Regions from separate parts of the Homo sapiens genome. Here regions 1, 3, 4, 5, 6 and 7 are each linked to region 2. The links are contacts of gene promoters, found by promoter capture Hi-C in blood cells and fetal thymus (Javierre and others, 2016). All regions are on one chromosome and are shown on one strand. The core of a region is centred on a gene start or on the middle of the fragment in contact, and the rest is flanking DNA. Distances in the headings are between cores, read along the strand shown.

What was found. The method cuts DNA at HindIII sites, captures the fragments that hold promoters and counts their contacts. A CHiCAGO score of 5 or more calls a contact.
Region 1: a contact is called between a fragment that was not itself captured here and the fragment with the promoter of UBQLN2 in region 2, in 4 of 17 cell types (activated CD4 T cells, naive CD8 T cells, naive CD4 T cells and 1 more). The highest score is 7.0, in activated CD4 T cells.
Region 3: a fragment that was not itself captured here is called in contact with the fragment with the promoter of UBQLN2 in region 2 in 5 of 17 cell types (naive CD4 T cells, non-activated CD4 T cells, total CD4 T cells and 2 more); the score reaches 9.0 in naive CD4 T cells.
Region 4: a fragment that was not itself captured here is called in contact with the fragment with the promoter of UBQLN2 in region 2 in 1 of 17 cell types (non-activated CD4 T cells); the score reaches 5.4 in non-activated CD4 T cells.
Region 5: a fragment that was not itself captured here is called in contact with the fragment with the promoter of UBQLN2 in region 2 in 4 of 17 cell types (non-activated CD4 T cells, naive CD4 T cells, total CD4 T cells and 1 more); the score reaches 6.5 in non-activated CD4 T cells.
Region 6: a contact is called between a fragment that was not itself captured here and the fragment with the promoter of UBQLN2 in region 2, in 1 of 17 cell types (non-activated CD4 T cells). The highest score is 5.3, in non-activated CD4 T cells.
Region 7: a contact is called between a fragment that was not itself captured here and the fragment with the promoter of UBQLN2 in region 2, in 3 of 17 cell types (naive CD8 T cells, total CD4 T cells and naive CD4 T cells). The highest score is 6.7, in naive CD8 T cells.

What each region holds. Positions count from the first base shown.
Region 1 is chrX:56,402,258-56,405,850 of GRCh38, forward strand. No RefSeq gene overlaps it. Among named protein-coding and RNA genes, the nearest start is that of UBQLN2, 160 kb to the right of the region's middle. The HindIII fragment of the contact is 1,146 bases long and covers 1,034-2,179 here.
Region 2 is chrX:56,561,479-56,564,876 of GRCh38, forward strand. It overlaps UBQLN2 (ubiquilin 2), which reads left to right and starts at 2,149. Exons shown (of 1, transcript NM_013444.4): 1 at 2,149-3,398. The coding sequence starts at 2,396. RefSeq lists enhancers at 1,852-2,479, 2,876-3,075, 3,086-3,145. The HindIII fragment of the contact is 11,191 bases long and covers 1-3,398 here.
Region 3 is chrX:56,380,255-56,383,457 of GRCh38, forward strand. No RefSeq gene overlaps it. Among named protein-coding and RNA genes, the nearest start is that of KLF8, 150 kb to the left of the region's middle. The HindIII fragment of the contact is 665 bases long and covers 968-1,632 here.
Region 4 is chrX:56,762,613-56,765,733 of GRCh38, forward strand. The region is part of intron 2 of NBDY (negative regulator of P-body association); the gene reads left to right. Among named protein-coding and RNA genes, the nearest start is that of NBDY, 35 kb to the left of the region's middle. RefSeq lists enhancers at 995-1,044, 1,065-1,184, 1,148-1,649, 1,645-2,004. The HindIII fragment of the contact is 2,994 bases long and covers 1-2,844 here.
Region 5 is chrX:56,344,171-56,347,307 of GRCh38, forward strand. No RefSeq gene overlaps it. Among named protein-coding and RNA genes, the nearest start is that of KLF8, 110 kb to the left of the region's middle. The HindIII fragment of the contact is 8,181 bases long and covers 1-3,137 here.
Region 6 is chrX:56,745,794-56,748,863 of GRCh38, forward strand. All of the region lies in intron 2 of NBDY (negative regulator of P-body association), which reads left to right. Among named protein-coding and RNA genes, the nearest start is that of NBDY, 18 kb to the left of the region's middle. The HindIII fragment of the contact is 5,918 bases long and covers 1-3,070 here.
Region 7 is chrX:56,363,315-56,366,486 of GRCh38, forward strand. No RefSeq gene overlaps it. Among named protein-coding and RNA genes, the nearest start is that of KLF8, 130 kb to the left of the region's middle. The HindIII fragment of the contact is 9,077 bases long and covers 1-3,172 here.

The sequences.
Region 1 (3,593 bases), core at 357-2,856, 160 kb before region 2:
CTTCATTATAAAGTTGTAGTATAATCATATCTTGAGAGGTTGTATTGAGAGGCATATATTTAGTGGAATCAAGTTTCTGGTTTTGAATTCTGAACAGTTTATGTGTTGTGAGTGCTTGGACCTCTCTGTGGCTCAGTTTCATTATCAGTATAATCTGGATACTAGTAGTATCTACATCATACTGTATTGTGATGATTACATGAGATAATCTATGTAAGGTACCTAGTATAGTATCTGGCACATAGAAAAAATTTAATGAAAGTTAATTACTCTCATTGTTGTTCTAATAATTGCCAATTCTCCTGAGTCCAAGCTAGAATAGTCATCTCTTGATCATGGGATACAGAAAGACCAGAAAAGCCCTGCCTTTATTCCTGGGAAAAGCCCCTATGAACTTCAATTTTATTATTGTTAGGGACCAGAAGTTAATCTCTGCTGAACCACCATGTGTCTACACCAGTGAGGTTAATTATGTAATACAGCTCTCTTTTGCCCACCTCTCAGGGGTCAATGTCAATTAGTTCCATTGTTTGAAGTTGTCCTGCCATCATGTCTTGAGAAAAAGGGAGGTGTAGGAGCAGTGGAAAGCTCTTTTATTTTTGAATGTGTGAGATCAGCTTCATGATTGCCAACTAAGCCTTGCTGGGGCTGATCTTACCTAGGCTGCTTATCTGCTGGTAACAATAACTTCTATAGGAATTTGCTATTTTTTAAATTTAAACATTTGTTAATATCTTTAAAGAGTTGTAATGCTATTTAGAAGGGACATGTCCCCTTGCAGGTCTTGGACACACTGAATTTAAATCCTGATGGACTGAATCATTTTATGAGTTATAGTTTTACCTTTCTGAATAGAAAATGCCAAGTAATAATCCTAATGACTGGTAGTAAAAACGTCATTATTTTTCACTAAGGAAGAAAACTTTTATTTAGATATTGGTCTTCATTCTGAGAGAACTTCCCACGCTATTGCTGACCATTTCTTCCCTCTGAAATGCTTAAACCCCACAGCTGAAGCTAGCAAGGAAACCTAAGCTTACAGTATGTGTGCACGGGTAGAACCAGTATTGGGGAATGAATGAGTGCCCACATGCATGTACTGAGTCAATGAATCCTGATTATCAGCTCAGCTCTTTTGTTCCCACTCCAATGTTTGCAGCATTAAATGTGTACTTATGTGTGTGTTTCCAATTGTTTACACAAAAAAGCGGAGACATTATGCACAAGCCTGTATTGCCTTAGGAATGTATCTGTGCATTATCTTGTTGTCCTGTAGTCCCTGAACACATGAAGCACACATCTGTATGAATTTCTATGGACACTCAAAAGCCTCTTTAGTTGTTTCTAATTGGCCAATGAAATGACAACTAATTGAGATCAGGAATATTAGCATATTCCTGATTTCTGCCTAGCATTGAGGCTATTAACAGGCATAATTTGAGGGGTTCCCACCAAATTCCAGCAAGCTCAGTGCTGCATGTTGAGTTTAGCTCAAATTAGTTCTTTAAATTGTTTGAACAATTTGTAGAGTGAGTGTTACAATCCTTGATTTAAATTCCTGTTTAAAGACCTTTATCATTATAAATGACCAGAAATTATTACCTTAGATGAGAATTGCAATAGTCAATATGTGAAACAGATTTACCATGGCTGAAATACAGCAATACCTATTAAGTAGAAAATATTTCAAATGTTTTACTCCCAGATCTGCTTTTGTCAAGTAATGTAACCCTGGGGAAGTCATTCCTGTTCACTGGGTCTGCCTCCTTATCTGTAAAATAATGTAGCAATTTTCTATTGCTGCCATAGAAAATTACCGCAAATTTATTGGCTTAAAGTAACAATTTTGGAGGTCAGAAGTCCAGCACAGGTCTCATTAGGTTAATATCAAGTTGTTTGCAAGAGTGTTTTCTTTTCTGGAAGCTCTGGAAGAGAATCTGTTACTTTGCTCATCTAGGATTTTAAAGAATCTAATTCATGTGGTTGTATAACTGAAGTTTCTGTTTCCTTGCTGGCTGTCAGCCGAGGGCTTTTCCCAATTACTAGATGTCACCTATATTCCTTGGATTGTGCCCCTCTTCTCAATCTTCAAAACTAACAAATCCAAGTTAAGTCTCTTTCATGCTTCCAATCTTCCTTACATCTTCTTCAGTACCATCTCTCTGACTTCAGCTAAGAAAGCTTCTCTTGGTATATATGATTAGATTGAACTCACAGGGATAATCCAGGACAATCTTTCCATTTCAAAACACATAACTTTAACATGCCTGCAAAGTCTCTTTTGCCATGTAAGGTAGCATGTTTATAGGTTCCAGGGATTAGGGTGTGGACATCTTCAGGTGTCATGGGAGGGAGAGTCATTATTTTGCCTACCACAGATGAGAAAACTAGATTATTTAGATCAGCATTTTTGAAATAAATTCGGTATAACACAAGTTTAGTGGACTGTGATAGGGTTAAGGGCTGGAAAGTAGTAGACACATGCATCAAAACAAACAAAGCTAAGTATGACTGGACACTAGGTTGGTATTAAACAAAGAATGTTACATAGATAACAAAGTAAAGTACAAGCAGGTGATGTGTAGTAGTTGAAAAGATTATTCTAAAACACTAGATGTCCATTTGTTCCATAAGAGTTTAGAGGTAGTTTGGCATATAGGGATGTGGAGGAGTGGTGTGGATAGCCACAATAGTTCTTTTTTGTTGTTGTTCTTATAATTTAAGTTCTGGGATACATGTGGAGAAACTGCAGGTTTGTTACATAGGTGTACACACGGCATGGTGGTTTCCTGCACCCATCAACCTGTCATCTACATTAGGTATTTCTCCTAATGCTGTCCCTCCTCTAGCTTCCACCCCCCCAAAGGCCCTGGTGTGTGATATTCCCCTCCTTGTATCCCCATTTTCTCATTGTTCAACTCCCGCTTATAAGTGACAACATGTGGTGTTTCGTTTTCTGCTCTTGTGTTAGTTTGCTGAGAATGATGGTTTCCAGCTTCATCCATGTCCCAACAAAGGACATGAACTCATCCTTTTTTATGGCTACATAGTATTCCATGGTGTATATGTGCCACAGTTTCTTTATCCAGTCTATCATTGATGGGCATTTGGGTTGGTTCCAAGTCTTTGCTATTGTGAATAGTGCTGTAATAAACATATATGTGCATGTGTCTTTATAGTAGAATTATTTATAATCCTTTGGGTATACACCCAGTAATGGGTCAAATGGTATTTCTGGTCCAAGATCCTTGATGAATCGCCACACTTTCTTCCACAATGGTTGAGCTAATTTACACTCCCACCAACAGTGTGAAAGCATTCCTATTTCTCTACATCCTCTCCAGCATCTGTTGTTTCCTGACTTTTTGAAGATCACCATTCTAACGGGCATGTGATGGTATTTCATTGTGGATTTGATTTGCATTTCTCTAATGACCAGTGATGATGAGCTTTTTTTCATATGTTTGTTAGCTGCATAAATGTCTTCTTTTGAGAAGTGTCTGTTAATATATTTCACCCACTTTTTGATGGGATTTTTTTTTCTTGTAAATTTGTTTAAATTCCTTGTAGATTCTGGATATTAGCCCTTTGTC
Region 2 (3,398 bases), core at 899-3,398:
TCAAATGGTTGGTTTTTTGTTCATACTTTGATTATTAATATCTAGCTTTATTCTATGGAAATTAAAGATTACCTATAATATTTTCATATTCTCACCACCCATAATTAACTATTGCTGATATTTTATCATATTTGCTTTCATTTTAAAGATAAAAAGCATTTTTACATATTTAAGTTCCCTTTACTCACTATCCTGTATCCTATTCCATTTCCTCTTCCTCATGGGTGCAAGTTTGGTATATTTCTAAAAGAATATTTCAAATATACATAAGAATGTATTAGAGTGCTGTTTGGCATGTATTAGGTTGGTGCAAAAGTAATTGCGGTTTTTGCTATTACTTTCAATGGCAAAAACCATTGTATAATAGTAACAATTCGTTACTTTCAATGGCAAAAACCGCAATTACTTTTGCATCAACCTAATACTAATTAATTTGGCTTTTTAGATCTATACATATTAACATATTTAAAGCTAGTCATCTTTTTACCTCTGTATTTTATTAATTATATTAATAAAATAGAGAGGTAAAATAATATTAATTCTTCCATTTCTCCATCGATGGATATAACATACCTGTATATATATATTTTTCTTATCTTCAGATTTATTAAAGTATTTGTGACCTAATGACTTTGAAATGCTGTTAAATGTTGAAAGCAGTGGTGCTTTGGTGGATGCTTGGTAGAGGGTGGGGGTTGGGGAAGAATTTTCTGTGTGGTTTAACCTAGAGTTAGAAATATATAGATAAATTTGAAATTATTTCTTCTATTTTTCAAGTTCTCTTTCTCAGCATTGCTACATCTTTATTGCTCTTACTTAATCTGTAATTAAATTAGGTAAATATGTCAATGTTTGCCACTACTATTATGTGCCTGTCAATTTCTACCCATACTCTTCCCCAAAATACCTTTCTGTAGTGCATACTTACAAAAATCATCAGAAAATTCAAAATCTTATGAAAATAGAAAATAAGAATTATTCATAATTTCAGCAAACAGTACTAACAGCCATTAACTTATTTGTGCATAGCCTTCCAGATTTTTTTACACATACGGTTTACATATACAACAAACTGTTCAAAAATTGCTTTTAAAATAAAAATATATTTATTGTATTTTTGATATTGGAACATATATTCTTATATAGTTTGTAACTGTACAGAAATATACAAAGGCATAATTGAAAATACTCTGTGATTTCCCTATAACTACAGTTTATTTCATGTATACCTTTAAAGACACTCTATATTTTCTTGTATGGTAATATGATAATGTGCTCAACTAATCTCATGTAAACAGATAGTTAATATATTTAAATAACATTTTAAAATGCTACAATGTATATACATTTTATACATAAATATTTTTGCATCCTCATCCGATTATTAGGCGAAGTGTCTAGGTTAGGCATTTCTAAATAAAGGTGGAAACATTCAAAATGCTGATATATATTTTCAAATTGCCCTATGGTTGTAACAATTCACACTTCAGCTAGCCTGAGAGGGCATTTTTTAGGGTCCCTGTCAACAAGAAGGTTTACCATTATTTTTTTCCCTGCCAATATGATAAGCCAAAAGTAGAATTTTATTGTTTTAACTTGATTTCTTTTTATTAGTAGTGAAATTAATCATCCTTTTTTAATGTCTATTGGCCATTTGCACTCCTTTTGTAAAATGCACGCTCCTGCTCTGTCTTCTTCCCTTCCCCTACTGGAGGTGTTCCTCTTTTCTTTTTGCTTTGTCAGAGTTCTTTATTATTCATTTTTCGTCTTATACGTGGGATCTGTTCGATTCAGGCTTTCACCCTTTTACTGCCTTACAGATTGCTAATATACATTCTCCATTGGTCTTTTAATGTCGTTTACAGAAGCTGACTCTCTACCGCCTCCTTCTCTCCGTCTCACCCTCTCTGCCTCGCCTGCTCTGTACTGTTCTGTTCTCTTCTCTCTCTCCCTTTGTTTCTCTCTCTCCCTTTTTTCTTTTCAGTGCAGAAGTTTTTAATTTTGACCGAGCCAAATCTATCAATCTAGGCCTGGCGCCGCGTCAGCAGAGGGGGCGGGGAGGCGAGCGCGGAACTGGGGGAGGGGAAGGGGCGGGGATCAGCAGGCGGAGCGGCTGCCAGAGTTGCTGGGAGTGCGCGCGGTCGGATCACAAGGCGGCGGCGGAGGAGGCCCAGAGACCGGAGCGCGGAGACCTCAGCCAGCGGCCTACGCCCAGGCCTTTCTCCACCGGAGGACCAGGGAACCGCAGTCTTCATCACAGAGGTACCGTGCTCCGCGCTCCCCGCCTGACCCGGCCCAGCCCGCTGCGGCGGTGCCTCCTTCCTTCCTCCTTCCCTCGCGCTCTCTCTTTCGCCCGCCCGCGCCTTCCCTGCCCGCCTGCGTCACCGCGGCCGCCATGGCTGAGAATGGCGAGAGCAGCGGCCCCCCGCGCCCCTCCCGCGGCCCTGCTGCGGCCCAAGGCTCGGCTGCTGCCCCGGCTGAGCCTAAAATCATCAAAGTCACGGTGAAGACTCCCAAAGAGAAAGAGGAGTTCGCGGTGCCCGAGAACAGCTCGGTTCAGCAGTTTAAGGAAGCGATTTCGAAACGCTTCAAATCCCAAACCGATCAGCTAGTGCTGATTTTTGCCGGAAAAATCTTAAAAGATCAAGATACCTTGATCCAGCATGGCATCCATGATGGGCTGACTGTTCACCTTGTCATCAAAAGCCAGAACCGACCTCAGGGCCAGTCCACGCAGCCTAGCAATGCCGCGGGAACTAACACTACCTCGGCGTCGACTCCCAGGAGTAACTCCACACCTATTTCCACAAATAGCAACCCGTTTGGGTTGGGGAGCCTGGGAGGACTTGCAGGCCTTAGCAGCCTGGGCTTGAGCTCGACCAACTTCTCTGAGCTCCAGAGCCAGATGCAGCAGCAGCTTATGGCCAGCCCTGAGATGATGATCCAAATAATGGAAAATCCCTTTGTTCAGAGCATGCTTTCGAATCCCGATCTGATGAGGCAGCTCATTATGGCTAATCCACAGATGCAGCAATTGATTCAGAGAAACCCAGAAATCAGTCACCTGCTCAACAACCCAGACATAATGAGGCAGACACTCGAAATTGCCAGGAATCCAGCCATGATGCAAGAGATGATGAGAAATCAAGACCTGGCTCTTAGCAATCTAGAAAGCATCCCAGGTGGCTATAATGCTTTACGGCGCATGTACACTGACATTCAAGAGCCGATGCTGAATGCCGCACAAGAGCAGTTTGGGGGTAATCCATTTGCCTCCGTGGGGAGTAGTTCCTCCTCTGGGGAAGGTACGCAGCCTTCCCGCACAGAAAATCGCGATCCACTACCCAATCCATGGGCACCACCGCCAGCTACCCAGAGTTCTGCAACTACCAGCACGA
Region 3 (3,203 bases), core at 50-2,549, 180 kb before region 2:
CTCCCTCCCAGACGGGGCGGCTGGCCGGGCGGGGGCTGCCCCCCACCTCCCTCCCAGACGGGGTGGCTGCCAGACGGGGTGGTTGCCAGGCGGAGACACTCCTCACTTCTCAGATGGGGCAGCTGCCGGGCAGAGGGGCTCCTCACTTCTCAGATGGGGCAGCTGCCGGGAGGAGGGGCTCCTCACTTCTCAGATGGGGCGGCTGGGCAGAGACGCTCCTCATCTCCCAGACGGGGTGGCGGTCGGGCAGAGACACTCCTCAGTTCCCACACAGGGTCGCCGCCTGTCAGAGGCACTCCTCACATCCCAGACGGGGCAGCGGTGCAGAGGCACTCCCCACATCTCAGACGATCGGCAGCTGGGCAGAGACGCTCCTCACTTCCTAGATTGGAAGGCGGCCGGGAAGAGGCGCTCCTCACTTCCCAGACTGGGCAGCCGGGCAGAGGGGCTCCTCACATCCCAGACGATGGGCGGCCGGGCAGAGATGCTTCTCACTTCCCAGACAGGGTGGCGGCCAGGCAGAGACTGAAATCTCGGCACTTTGGGAGGCCAAGGCAGGTGGCTGGGAGGTGGAGATTGTAGCGAGCCGAGTTCACGCCACTGCACTCCAGCCTGGACAACATTGAGCACTGAGTGAACGAGACTCCGTCTGCAATCCCGGCACCTCGGGAGGCCGAGGCTGGAGGATCACTCACGGTTAGGAGCTGGAGACCAGCCCGGCCAACACAGCAAAACCCCATCTCCACCAAAAAAACACGAAAACCAGTCAGGCGTGGCGGCGCGCGCCTGCAATCACAGGCACTTGGCAGGCTGAGGCAGGAGAATCAGGCAGGGAGGTTGCAGTGAGCAGAGATGGCGGCAGTACTGTCCAGCTTCGGCTCAGCATCAGAGGGATACTGTGGAAAGAGAGGGAGAGGGAGACCGTGGGGAGAGGAGGGAGAGGGAGAGGGAGAGGGAGAGCTAAATAAGCTTTTAATTAGACAAAAAATATTCATCTTTTAACAAGAACACACATTATGTTAGAATGTTTTTCTACAATATATTTTTTTAATTGTAAATTACCCAGATATTTAGTGAAATACCTATTATTTAATTTAACTTTAGATTCTAGATTATAATGCTTATCCCATTAGATATAAATCTAATGGGACAAGTACTTATCCCATTAGATTTACCTAATTATTTTATTTCAATAGTTTACCTAAATTATTTATAAAAACTGTGATAACCATTATTTAAATTTCTTTTCCTGTCAATCATTTTATAGCCTATGAATTTCAGGTGTCTACCTAAGTAAGAGCCTTAACATTAAATATATTATTATTTTGCCAAATAATTCAAGATTTAGCTATTTTCATTAAATTAATATTAATCTCTTATTTATCAAACATTACACAAGCAAAGAACATTCTGTTTTGGGCTGGGCTTATAGTTTAATAACACTTATGCCAAATTTGACACCTTATAGTATTTGGCAGGGATAAGTATAAAATCTCTTGATCAATAAATGTAAACAAAAATGTATGCTATTAATAAAAATTCTTAAGACATTTTTAATATTACTTTACCAATAATTTTAAAGCTAGATTATTGGAGATTTTACTTAAGTAATGTGAACTTGAAAAGCATTTAAGCTTATTATTTAATTTATGAGTACTCTCTGTTTAAGCCAAATTTGGTATCTTGTTGCCAAAAGCACGTAAGAAAATGCATGTATATGCACATAAACACACAAATACACACTCATACAAAGATTCTATAGCTTTACTTTAGGATTATGGCCATGAGATTTTAATAAAAACTCATTGGTTTGCAAAAACAATAACAAAAAGAAATGGATGCAAACAGTGGATTTTATCTCAGTAGAAAAGGAACAACAGACTTAGAGTAGACAGAAAAAAAATGCAGAAAGATAGAGAACTTATGAACTTAATAGTGGGAGGTCAACCTTTGGGCTCTGAATTTTCCTTGATGTAATTGTGCACTAAAAGACCATAATATGTCCATTTTACACAAACACTTGCAAGTAGAAGTGCCATAAAACCAACATAGTATCTGAAAGATCATTCTCCTTGTTCTTTTTTTTTGTTGTTAGAAGATTATTTGTGGCCTAGAGTTTAGTGGAGTGGGTTGACGTGTGCTGTCTGTGGGTGGGACTCCACACTGTTTCACCATTGAGTCATTTCTACCCTCTTATGTGTCTCAGTTTCTCTCTCCAAAGATCTAGCACCTCCAAGAGGGCTCAAGGCACAGAATGACCAGCTCCTATACGTGCTTCCTGGAAGAGCCTTTTTAAACGAATTTTGTTGGGGGTTTCCTGTAGGGTCACTGCAAGTCATGGGGAGTCAACACCCAGACACACCCACTTGGCCTTCATTCACCCAGAGATGCCTTTAGGCTGGGAGGAGCAAAATGTCTTTTCTCTTTGGAGAAAACTCAGTCTTTTCTTTATCCACAAAAATGACAGTTCGGTTCCTCACACAAATGCTCAGACAAGTGAATCAATATTAATTTCAGGAGAGAAGGCAATGGAGAAGACTCCTTAGAATGCACCGTTATATTAAAATTGGGATCCTAAACAACAACTTCCTAGGAGGAAAAGAAAAGGAAAAAAACCAGCTAAGACTACTTCCTGTAAATTGTCCTCAGCCACCCCTAACTTTGTAGCAATTTTCTGCCATTACACATGCCAAGGACAAATCCTCTCACAGTACAAGGTAATATCTGGTACCCCCAAAAGCCAAAGATGTCAGGTAACACAATACAGGAAAGCAGCCGTTTAGCTCTAAGAAGAATCTGCCCATGACTCTTGAAACTCCACAGAGAAAACAAAGCACCCCAAAAAGAGGTGACTGACACCTTTGTTCCTAGTTCTTTAAGAGGTTCAATTCAGTAGAAGCCTTCTCTAGAATTTTCTTGGTACCAAAGATGGCAAAAGAGAAAGGAGAAATAAGGTGGAACCAAAGAAAACAAACAAAAATCTTTAAGACAGGAAGCAAACACAGAAAGTACATGATTTTGTTTTGTGTTGTTTTGTTTCTTTTGCAGCTGTGAGAAATTTTAGCCAAATTCAGAGGCTTGTACCGCATAATTTGGAATCCTCATTCAGATTTGACCAAGTCAGGTAGAGTTGGTGAAATCTGATGGAAGAAAGACCAGAATAAACAATGACAAAATAATGCAAAAATATGATTACTGAGTGT
Region 4 (3,121 bases), core at 98-2,597, 200 kb after region 2:
GTTCTCCTTGAAGACGATCTAATAATGTAATCTTGGCCAGTAGGAGCCTCAGCAAGTTTTCCCCCATTTCCTCTCCTTCCAGTCAAGCCATGTGAACACAACTATCCGGATTTCAGTGTATACAGGCAGGCTGTCTCTGCCATGTGCCAGTTTACCCACTCTCACACAGGAAGGCACCCACAAACCATAGACACAGATACACATACACACACTCACTAGGGACCTCAGAAATGAAATCACAAACACACCCGCACACAGAGACACATGCAGACACACACAAACACACACATAGACACACAAACAAGAAACCTCACAGGGGCACAGGGGTGCAGGCCCAAGCATTCTCCCACACAGACACATACACACCACCACAGGCACGAGACTGCCTACAATTTCTCCCACACAGGTTCTAAATGTGCAAAGGGAACAGGAGACAGGGGAGAATTCCTGACTCCAGGCCTGGGCCATCATGCCATTGATTGATGGGCAACTCTCGCCTTCTCCTGAGAATCAATGTGGGAAGTCTGTTAACAGATAGGATCCAGCAGCTGGTGTAAAACTGGAGCATCCTGGGTCAAGCTGCTTAAAAAGGAACCTCACTTTGTGTTAGAGACAGAGAGAGTTCCCTTGGGAGCCTTGGCCCTGTGTGATGCCATAAGAATCTGTGGTGTGTGGTGGCATTCCCCAGCACCCCTGAGCCACCCTCCTCCCACCCCCATCTGTGTGAAACCCAGGACAGCCTGAGCAGAGTCAGACTTGAGCAAGTTGCTGAGTGTCCTCTCTGAGAGATACTCCTGCTTCAGGCCCTGTGGTTTCCAGTTGAGCAGTCCACCTATTTTGATGACCTCCATGTGTCAGCCCAAGGCGGTAAACTCTACCTGGAGCTCCAGGCTTTCGTAGGACCCCCAGTCCTGCAGCAGAACCTTGTGTAAGCCAGCTGGGTGACCAGCACCTTGTCCTGGGGCAGTAGCCCTATGATCCTAGTCCTCCTGTGGTGTCCCAGTAATGATCATGTTTTTTGTTGTTTACTTTCTGCACGGGCAAGAGCCATGAAACCTGCAGAGAGCCAAAGGAAGGGCAAAGGCTGGCTCCCTAAACAGGATTCCCACAGGATCTCCAGCCTACTGGTCCTGGTCCTTGGTCACACGGTCCCATGAGTTTGGTGATCAATCTGGGACCAGGTGACTGATTCCTTTCACTCCTCTGTCTTTTTTTTTGTTTCTCTTTCCTCTTTACCTTTTTTCACATGGGAAAAGGCGGAGGCCCTGGAGTTGAAGTGGCAGGGTTACAGTTGTAGTTGGCGTTTGTGGAGCCATACTGCCATCAAGCGGAAACTGTATCTAGAAACCGGAGGCAGCTGGGCACAAGTGCTGGGGAAACCCCACGAGCGCAAAAGAGATGGCGGCATGGAGCCCCCAGGCTGAAGCAGGACAAGAGAGGAACTCCAAGCTGGCCCTTGGCCTGTGCTCATTCCCAGGATGCCTCCCTGGTTCCACAGCTCTCTCCGAAAAAAAGGGCAGGTAGGGGCGACCCACCATGGGTTCCCCTGGTCATCTCCAGGTACTGCTGGTCCTGGGTTGCCACGTCTCCAGTATCCCGAAGCTCCTTTGTTCCCCGGGAGGATCGGGGCCCCCTTGCCAACACGTGGCTCCAGCCAAGGGAACCCCGGAACTCCCCACAAAAGACACCAGAGTAAACGGCCCCCGTCTCGGCCAGTGGCTTCGTTTATGTCCATCTCAACATGGCTGCCGGGCCAGCTCCGCCCTCTGGGCTGACTGGTCTTGGGGCTGCCTGGCTGTTCTGTCCTGGGGCCTCTAGAGTAGTTGCTTCTCCAAAGCGTCCCAATGCCAGGTACACTTCCTTCAAGGGCTCAGAACCCCGGTGGGGGAAACCCAGGCTTAGACATAGTCTAAGCACATCCTCGCTGATCTCTGTTCCTGGCAGAAGGCAGGTGTCCGTGCATCCTGTTGTGTTCAGAAACAACTTCCACTAGATGGCAATGTGGCTCCACAAACAGCAGTCTTGTCTTTCCCTTCCCCCATTTTCTTTCCCTCTTTCTGTTTTTGGTGCCAAAAACCAAAACAAACACCAAAAAAAAAAAAAAAAAAAAGAAACTGGCCTAGGAGCACCCATCTCACCTACAGCAGGGCTTCCCATCTATGTGGTCACTTTGGGGGAACCGGCAACAGTAGGATGGGGTAGGGGTGGGGGCCACAGGGAGCAGGGCAGCTTCCTGGCCCAACAGGCCTCTGTGCCCACGCGGTGCAGACCCGGGCTTGAGGGGCTGATGCTTTCTCCTGGCTGGTGGCTCTTCCTCTGTGAGGCCACAAGAGGCCACTCATAGTGCTGCCAGCTGTCCATCTGAGGCACTTTGCATTGCAGTTCGCTGTCAATCTCATTGCTCACTGATTCTTTGTGTACTTTTGGAGTTTTTCTCCCTTCACTTTTTTCTTCTTCATTCTCTTTACTTTTTCTCCACTTCTGCTCCAGGAGCAGACTGGAAGGCAGGGTCAGCTGGGCGCGGGGACACCGTTAGGGAAAACAGGCTTACTTTTCCTAAGGAAATTAGTAGGACTCTAGCTGACCCCTGCGAGGAGAAATTGGCGTTTCCCTCTCCTTTCTGCCCTGTCTCCATATTGCAGTGGGTGGCTGATTATCTCTTTTCCCTGGTGTCCAATTCCTCCCCGTTTTTCATCTTATTCTTTTTTGGGCGGTCCTTCCCTGCCTTGGCCTTGTAGCCTTGGGGCTTGGTAGCCCCTTGCAGTCAGCTGATGACATCTTCAGGGCAAGGTTCAGCCAGCACCTGTGTTCTCTGTAGCTTCTGCAGGCCTACTTGTGGATCAAAGCTTTTGATCTTACTCAGGAAATACCCCATCAACAAGACGCTTCCTGGTTGTGTGTCCTTTAAGCCGGATGTCAGAAGTGGCTCCGTGCCCCTCGTTGTATGTCACCACGCGTTGAGGCCCTCCTAAACTAGATCCTTCGGGACAGCTACAGTGGCATGGACCTCTCACTTCCTGTTCTCCTTCTGATTCTTCTTCCTCTTCCTCCTCCTACCCCTCTTCTTTAATTCTTCTCCTTCTCCTCCTTCTCCTCTTGCTCCTCCTCCTCCAACTCCTTC
Region 5 (3,137 bases), core at 558-3,057, 220 kb before region 2:
TCTCCATTTTCATTTGCCTTAAGATTTTAAAAAATTTCTTTTAATTTTTTCTTTGAACGGTTTATTGTTCAGGAACATATAGTTTAATTGTCATATATTTGTGATTTTTCTCAAATTTCTTTTGTTACTGATTTCTAGGTTCATACCATTGTGGTCAGAAAAGATACTTGATAGAATTTCAATCTTCTTACATTCTTTAAGAGTTGTTTTGTGTCCTAAAATGTAATCTATTCTAGAGAATGTTTTATGTGTACTTGAGAAGAATGTGTATTTTTCTGCTGTTAAATGAAATGTCCTATATATGTCTGTTAGATCCATTTGTTCTAAAGTGAAAGGTTGAATTCCTATGTTTCCTTATTGATTTTCTATCTGGGTGATCTATCCATTGTTGAAAGTCAGATATTAAAATCCCCTAACAGTAGCTATTCTTATATCAGACAAAACAAACTTTAAAGCAACAGCAGTTAAAAAAGACAAAAGGGACATTATATAATGGTAAAAGACATGGTCAAACAGGAAAATATCACAATCCTAAACATATATACACCTAACACTGGAGCTTCCAAATTTATAAAACAATTACTAACAGATCTAAGAAATGAGATAGACGGTAACGCAATAATAGTGGGGGACTTCAATACTCCACTGACAGCATTAAACAGGACATCAAGACAGAAAGTCAACAAAGAAACAATGGATTTAAACCATACCTTGGAACAAATGGACTTAACAGATATATACAGAACATTTTATCCAACAGCTGCAGGATACATATTCTATTCAAGAGCACATGGAACTTTCTCCAAGATAGACCCTATGATAATCCATAAAACAAGCCTCAATAAATCTAAGAAAATTTAAATTATATCAAGCACTCTCTGAGACCACAGTGGAATAAAATTGGAAATCACCTACAAAAAAAACCTTCAAAACCATGCAAATACATGAAATTAAATAACCTGCTCCCAAATGAGCATTGGGTCAAAAACAAAATCAAGATGGAAATTGGAAAATTCTTTGAACTGAACGACGATAATGACACAACCTATCAAAACCTCTGGGATACAGCAAAGGTGGTGCTAAAAGGAAACTTCATAGCCCTAAATGCCTACATCAAAAAGACTGAAAAAGCAAAAGCTGACATTATAGGTCACACCTCAGGGAAGTAGAGAAACAAGAACAAACCAAACCCAAGCCAGAGAGAAGAAAGAAAATAACCAAAATCACAGCAGAACTAAATGAGATTGAAACAAAGAAAATACAAAAATAAATGAAACAAAAAGCTGGTTCTTTGAAAAAATAAATATAATTGATAGGCCATTAGCAAGATGAACCAAGAAAAGAAGAGAGAAAATCAAAATAACTTCACTAAAAAACAAGACAGGAGGTATTACAGCTGAAACCACTGAAATACAAAAGATCATCAAGGCTACTATGAAAACCTTTATGCACATAAACTAGAAAACCTAGAAGGGATGGATAAATTCCTGGAAAAATACAACCTTGCTAGTTTAAATCAGCAAGAATTAAATACCCTGAACAGACCAATATAGGCAGAGAGATTGAAATGGTAATTAAGAAATTACCAACAAAAAAATGTCCAGGACCAGACAGATTCATGGCAGAATTCTATCAGACATTCAAAGAAGTATTGGTACGAACCTTTGACACTATTCTACAAGAAAGCGAAAGAAGACACCCTCCCTAATTCATTCTATGAGCCAGCATTACCCTAATATCAAAACTAGGAAAGGACATAACAAAACAACAAAACAAAACAACAACAAACAAAACAAAATAAAACAAAACTACACACTGATATCCTTGATGAACATAGATATTAAAATCCTTAAAAAAATCCTAGCTAACCAAACCCAACAATATATTAAAAAGATAGTCCACCATGATCAAGTGGGTTTCAAACCAGGGATGCAGGGATGGTTTAACATACGCAAGTCAATAAATGTGATAAAACAGAATTAAAAACAAAATCACATGATCATCTCAATAGATGCAGAAAAAGCATTCAATAAAATCCAACATTTCTTTATGATTAAAGCTCTCTGCAAAATCGGCATACAAGGGACATACGTCAATGTAATAAAAACCATCTATGATAAACCCACAGTCAACTTAATACTTAATCAGGAAAAGTTGAAAGCATTCTCTCTGATAACGGGAATAAGATACGGATGCCCACTCTCACCATTCCTCTTCAACATAGTACTGGAAGTCCTAGCCAGAGCAAGCAGACAAGAGAAAGAAATAAAGGGAATCCAAATCAGTAAAGAGGAAGTCAAACTGTCACAGTTTGCTGATGATGTGACTGTTTACCTTGAAAAACCTAAAGACTCCTCCAGAAAGCTCCTAGAACTGATCAAAGAATTCAGCAAAGTTTCCTGATAAAAGATTAATGCACACAGATCAGTAGCTCTTCTATACCCCAACAGCGATCAAACAGAGAATCAAATCAAGAACTCAACTCCTTTTACAATAGCTGCAAAAAACAAAACAAAACAACAACAACAATAACTTAAGAATATACTTAACCAAGGAGTCAAAATACCTCTACAAGGAAAACTACAAAACCCTACTGAAAGAAGTCATAGATGACAGAAACAAATGGAAACACATCCCATGCTCATGGATGAGTAGAATGAATATTGTGAAAATGACCAAACTGCCAAAAGCAATCTACAAATTCAATGCAATTCCCATTAAAATACCACCATCATTCTTCACAGAATTAGAAAAAACATTTCTAAAATTCATATGGAACCAAAATAAGAGCCCACATAGCCAAATCAAGACTAAGCAAAAAGAACAAATCTGGAGACAACACACTACCTGATTTCAAACTATAATATAAGGCCATAGTCACCAAAACAGTGTGGTACTGGTATAAAAATAGGGACATAGACCAATGGAACAGAATAGAGAACCCAGAAATAAACCCAAATATTTACAGTTTCATCTTTGGTGAAGCAAACAGAAACATAAAGTCGGGAAAGGACAACCATTTCTACAAATGATGCTGAGATAATTGGCTAGCCACACGTAGGAGAATGAAACTGGATCCTCATCTCTCACTGTATAGAAAAAGCAACTCAAGATGGATTAAGAACTTAAATCTAAGT
Region 6 (3,070 bases), core at 512-3,011, 180 kb after region 2:
TCTATATGTCTCACAGTATGAAATGTGTCTGATTGTTTTCCCATGATTAGTTTAAGCGTTTTTAGCAAGAAGACTACATGGGCGATGTTCTGTCCTTCTTAGGCACAAAATTCTAGTTTATCCCAAGAGCATAGATACCTTTGGGGATTTTACAGATAGCTAGGTGGGTATTTTTTACTTCCCCCTTAAGAAAGTTACTTTTCTGGACACGGGTCAAATTATGGTTTATAATTTGCACCATATTCCATGTCTAGGTTACCTGTTTACAGAAATGCTCAGCATGAAGAGGAGTTTCTATATCTGTTCTGCCATCACATTTTCCTACTTCAGAGCATTTACTTAGTCCGGTTGGTTGTCTGTCTGTGTATTCACAAACTTTCACAATCAACTCAATAGGGAATAAAGTTTTTTTTTTCAGCAGCTTCATGTGCAGTCTCCTTAAGTACTTTTTCCTATGACTTGGTCACTTTTCTCCCTCTCATTGTATAAAGACTTTCTCATACTACTCTATATTGATCATTTTTAAGAGGCAAATATGATATGATCGAGTTCCTCTCCTGTTATTCTTACCTCCTGACATGTTATCATAGCATCTGGGTCTTCTGTCTCTGGGAAGATAAGCCAGATTTTATTGCATGGATTCTGTATTAGTTTTATATTTCTACCATAACAAAATGATCACAAATTTAGAAATTTAAAAGAACATATTTATTATAGTTCTGGAGGCCAGAAGCCTGCTATGGGTCTCATCAGACCTGATGAGAAGTCAAGCTGTTGGCTGGCTGCATTCCTTTCTAGAGGCTCTGGGGGGATATGTCCTGCTCATTTGGTTATTGGCAGAATTCCGTTCCTTGCCACTGTAGATCTGAGATCTGTAGATCTCAGTTCCTTGCCACTGTAGATCTGTAGATCTGAGATCCCTTTCTTGCTGGCTATGAGCTAAGAGCTGTTCCTAGCTTCTAGAGGCCACCCAAATTCCTTAGATTGTCATCTCTTTTCTCCATCTTCAAAGCCAACCATGGCAAATTGAGTCCCTCTCATACTTAGAATTTCTCCATTTTCTTTTGTCATTACATCTTTCACTGACTCAGATGATATGCTTTTAAAGATATATGCAATTAGAGTATGCCCACCCAAATAATTCAGAATATTCTCCCCCATCTCAAGATCCTTAACTTAATCACATCAGTAAAGTTCCTTTTGCCTTGTAAAATAACATAGTCATGGATTCTTGTAATTGTGGTGTGGACATCTTTGGGTGGCCATCATTTTGCCTACCACAGATTTTATTATAGCAGCAAGCCATAACCTGACACCGAGTGTGTGATTCATCCATTCTTTTATTCAACCAACACAAATATTAAAGAATGCCTATTAAATTGAGCATGTATTAAATTCCAGGCATTGTTTTATGTGCCAGGGTTACAAAAATATAACATCTAACTCACCAAGGAGTTCATAAACTGGTTTGGTAAGTTCTGTAGATAGAGATTGGCACAGAGTTCTATAAGAGAATACAAGAAGGCACATGAGCAAGACTAGAAGAGCCAGGAATGGCCTCCTGTATTGATCAATATCTAAGCTCAGTCTTTGAAATGAAATGAGGTACTAAGTAAGGATGGATGATTGTAGATGGGTAAAGAACTTCAAGCAGTGAGAAAATAATGACCAAAGTTACAGAACTCGAGGTAGGCTGGTTTTTGGAGGAGGTGAGATGTATGGTAGGTAGTTTTCCTGGAGTGGAGAGATGGAGCTAGATCAGCAAGCTGAAGCATAAACATGAAGACTTTGTGCACTACAAAGGCTCAAGATAGATCTGTAGGAAATGGGATGTGACTGACAATCTTGAAAGAGAGTGCTGTGTTCACATTTATATTTTATATAGGTCATACTAGTGGCCATGTGGAGGATAGTATAGTAGAGCAAGATTGGGGTAAGAAGATCATTTAAGATGCTTGTATGAAAATCCCGACAAAAAGTGATGAAGGCTTGAACTCAGCCAATGGTAGTTGGGATGGAGCACAGATCAGTGAATTTGAGAAAGTTTTATGAAGTATTATTGATTAGATGGTGTATCAATCAGGGTTCAACCAGAGAAATAGAACCAGTAGGAGATATATATTAAGAAATGTATTATAAAGAATTGGCTTGTGGGGGCTGTGTAGGCAAGCCTGAAATCTGTGGAGTGGGCTTTCAGGAAGGACAGACTGGAACTCCTGGACATGGGCTGAAGCTGATGTCCTCAGGTTAAATTTATTCAGGGAGACCTTAGCTCTGGTCTTAAGGTCCATCAGCTGATTGAATCAGGTCTACCCAAATTATTTAGGATAATCTCCTTTACTTAAAGTTAACTGATTATAGACAGTAATCACATCTACAAAATAGCTTCACAGCAAAACCTAGTTAAATTGAATAACTGAGGACTCTAGCCTAGCCAAATTAACACATCAAAAGACAATCACAGATGGGATGTCAAGGGAAACAGAATAATAGAGGGTAGTTCTCAAGTATGTGGCTTGAGTATTACATGAAATCACTAACTGAGTTATAGAATACAAGAAAAAGAGCAGGTTTTCAACATTTTCAGTAAGATACCTAGATGGAGGTTCCTGGCAAGCAGGTAAAGATCTGAGATTGCAAGAGAAGTGTTGTCCATATAAATATATTTAGATAACCATCAGCATAAAGGTGATAGATAAAACCAGGAGAGTAAATTAAATAATCTAGAAGAAGGTATATATAGAGAAAAGTTATGGATTGAGAAGGAAATTCTGGGGACCACTAACATTTAAGGATTATCTAGAGAAAGATGAACAGATAAAGGAGTAATAGGATGAGGGGGAAACCTGAAAAAGTCTGATGCCGATTAAGAAAAATGTAGTGAACAGCAACATAATATACATTAGAGGGTTCAGTACTGAAAAATATTTATTAATTTGTAAATTAAGTTTATTGGTGAATTTAGCATTAACGGTTTCCGTGTTGTGAGAGCAGAGGCCAGATTACAGTGGGTTGAAGAGTTACTAGGAAGTGCCAAGTTGAGGGTAGCTGGCATACGAGATGGGATGAG
Region 7 (3,172 bases), core at 75-2,574, 200 kb before region 2:
GTTGTATATTCCAGATATTAGTCCTTTGTCAGATGTATAGATTGTGAAGATTTCCTCCCACTCTGTAGGTTGTCTGTTTACTCTGCTGACTGTTCCTTTTGTCATGCAAAACTCTTTAGTTCAATTACGCCCCAGCTATTTATCTTTGATTTTATTACATTTGCTTTTGGATTCTTGGTCGTGAAATCCTTGCTTAAGCCAATGTCTACAAGGGTTTTTCCAATGTTATCTTCTAGAATTTTTATGGTTTCCGTTCTTAGGGTTAAGTTCTTAATCCATCTTGAGTTGGTTTTTGTATAAGATGAGAGATGAGGATCCAGTTTTATTCTCCTACATGTAGCTTGCCAATTATCTCAGCACCATTTGTTGAAAAGGGTGTCCTTTCCCCACTTTATGTTTTTTGTTTGCTTTGTCGAAGATCAGTTAGCTGTAAGTACTAGGCTTTATTTTGGGGTTCTCTATTCTGTTCCATTGGTCTATGTGCCTATTTTTATATCAGTACCATGCTGTTTGTGTGACTATGGCCCTATAGTATAGTTTGGATGCTACTATACTATAGTATAGTAGTGTGAGGCCTCCAGATTTGTTCTTTTTGCTTAGTCTTGCTTTGGCTATGCAGGCTCTTTTTTTTTGTTCCAGATGAATTTTAGAATAGTTTTTTCTAATTCTGTGCAGAATGATGGGGATATTTTGATGAGGATTGTATTGAATTTCTGGATTGCTTTTGGCAGCATGGTCATTTTCACAATATTGATTCTACCCATCCATGGGCACGGGATGTGTTTCCATTTGTTTCTGTCATCTATGATAACTTTCAGCAGTGTTATGAAGTTTTCCTTGTAGAGGTCTTTCGACTCCTTTGTTAGGTATATTCCTAAGTAGTTTTTTTTTTTTTTTTGCAGCTATTGTAAAAGGGGTTGAGTTCTTGATTTGATTCTCGGCTTGGTTGCTGTTGGTGTATAGAAAAGCTACTGATTTGTGTACATTAATTAAACTGCTGAATTCTTTGATCAGTTCTAGGAGCTTTCTGGAGGTGTCCTTAAGATTTTCAAGGTAAACGGTCATATCATCAGCAGTGACAGTTTGACTTCCTCTTTACTGATTTAGATGCCCTTTATTTCTTTCTCTTGTCTGATTGCTCTGGCTAGGACTTCCAGTACTATGTTGAAGAGGAGTGGTGAGAGTGGGCATCCTTGTCTTGTTCCCATTCTCAGAGGGAATGCTTTCAACTTTTCCTGATTAAGTATTACGTTGTCTGTGGGTTTGTCATAGATAGCTTTTATTACATCAATGTATGTCCCTTCTATGCTGATTTTGCTGATAGTTTTAATTACAAACCAATGCTGGATTTTGTCGAATGCTTTTTCTGCATCTACTGAGATAATTGTGTGATTTTCATTTTTAATTCTGTTTATGTGATGAATCACATTTATTGACTTGTTAAACAATTTCTACATCCCTTGTATGAAACTCACTTTATCATGGTGGATTATCTTTTTGATATGCTATTGAATTTGGTTAGCTAGTATTTTGTTAAGGATTTTAGCATCTGTGTTCATCAAGAATATCAGTCTGTAGTTTTCTTTTTTGGTGGTGTCCTTTTCTGGTTTTGGCATTAGGGTGATACTGGTTTCATAGAATGAATTAGGGAATGTTCCTTCTTTTTCTATCTTGTGGAATAGTGTCAAAAGGATTGGTACCAATTCTTTGAATGTCTGGTAGAATTCTGCTGTGAATCTGTCAGGTCCTGGACTTTTTTTGTTGGTAATTTTTTAATTACCATTTCAATCTTGCTGCTTTTTATTGGTCTGTTTAGGGTATCTAATTCTTCCTGACTTAAGCTAGGAAGGTTGTATTTTTCCAAGAATTTATCCATCTCTTCTAGGTCTTCTAGTTTATGTGCATAAAGGTGTTTATAGTAGCCTTGAATGATGTTCTATATTTCAGTGGCGTCAGTTGTAATAGCTCCTGTTTCATTTCTTAGTGAGGTTATTTGGGTTTCTTTCTTTTTTCTTGGTTAATCTTGCTAACGATCTATCAATTTTATTTATCTTTCAGAGAACTAGCTTTTTGTTTCATTTATCTTTTGTATTGTATTTTTTGTTTCAATTTCTTTTAGTTCTGCTTTGATCTTGGTTATTTCCTTTCTTCTGCTGGGTTTGGGTTTGGTTTGTTTTTGTTTCTCTAGTTCCTTGAAGTGTGACCTTAGATTGTCTGTTTGTGCTCTTTCAGACTTTCTGATATAGGCATTTAAGGCTCTGAACTTTCCTCTTAGCTTTTGCTTATCCTAGAGATTTTGATACATTGTGTCTTCATTGTCATTTAGTTCAAAGAATGTTTTAATTTCCATCTTGATTTCGTTTTTGACTTAGTGGTCATTCAGGAGCAGGTTATTTATTTTCCATGTATTTTCATGGTTTTGAAGGTTCCTTATGGAGCTGATTTCCAGTTCTATTCCATTGTGGTCTGAGAGAGTGCTTAATGTAATTTCAATTTTCTTAAATTTATTGAGGCTTGCTTTATGGCCTATTACATGGTCTGTCTTAGGGAAAGTTCCAGGCACTGTTGAATAGAATGTATATTCTGCTGTTGTTGGGTGAAATGTTCTGTACACATCTGTTAAGCCCATTTATTCCAAGGTGTAGTTTAAATCTATTGTTTCTTTGATGACTTTCTGTCTTGATGACCTGTCTAGTGCTGTTAGCAGAGTATTGAAGTTTCCTACTATTATTGTGTTGTTGTCTATTTCTTTTCTTAGATCTATTAGTAATTGTTTTATAAATTTGGGAGCTCCAGTATTAGGTGCATATATGTTTAGGGTTGTGATATTTTCCTGTTGGACAAGGCCTTTTACCATTATATAATGTCCCTCTTTGTCTCTTTTAACTGCTGTTGCTTTAAGGTTTGTTTTTCCTGATATAAGAATAGTTATTCCTGCTAGCTTTTGGTGTCCATTTGTATGAAATGCCTTTTTTTCACCCCTTTACTTTAAGTTTATGTGAGTCCTTATGTGTTAGGTGAGTATCCTGAAAGCAGCAGACAGTTAGTTGGTGAGTTCTTATTAATCCTTCTGTTCTGTATCTTTTAAGTGGTGCATTTAAAACATTTACATTCAACATTAGTATTGAAATGTGAGGTACTGTTGCATTCATCATGCTCTTTGTTGCTTGAG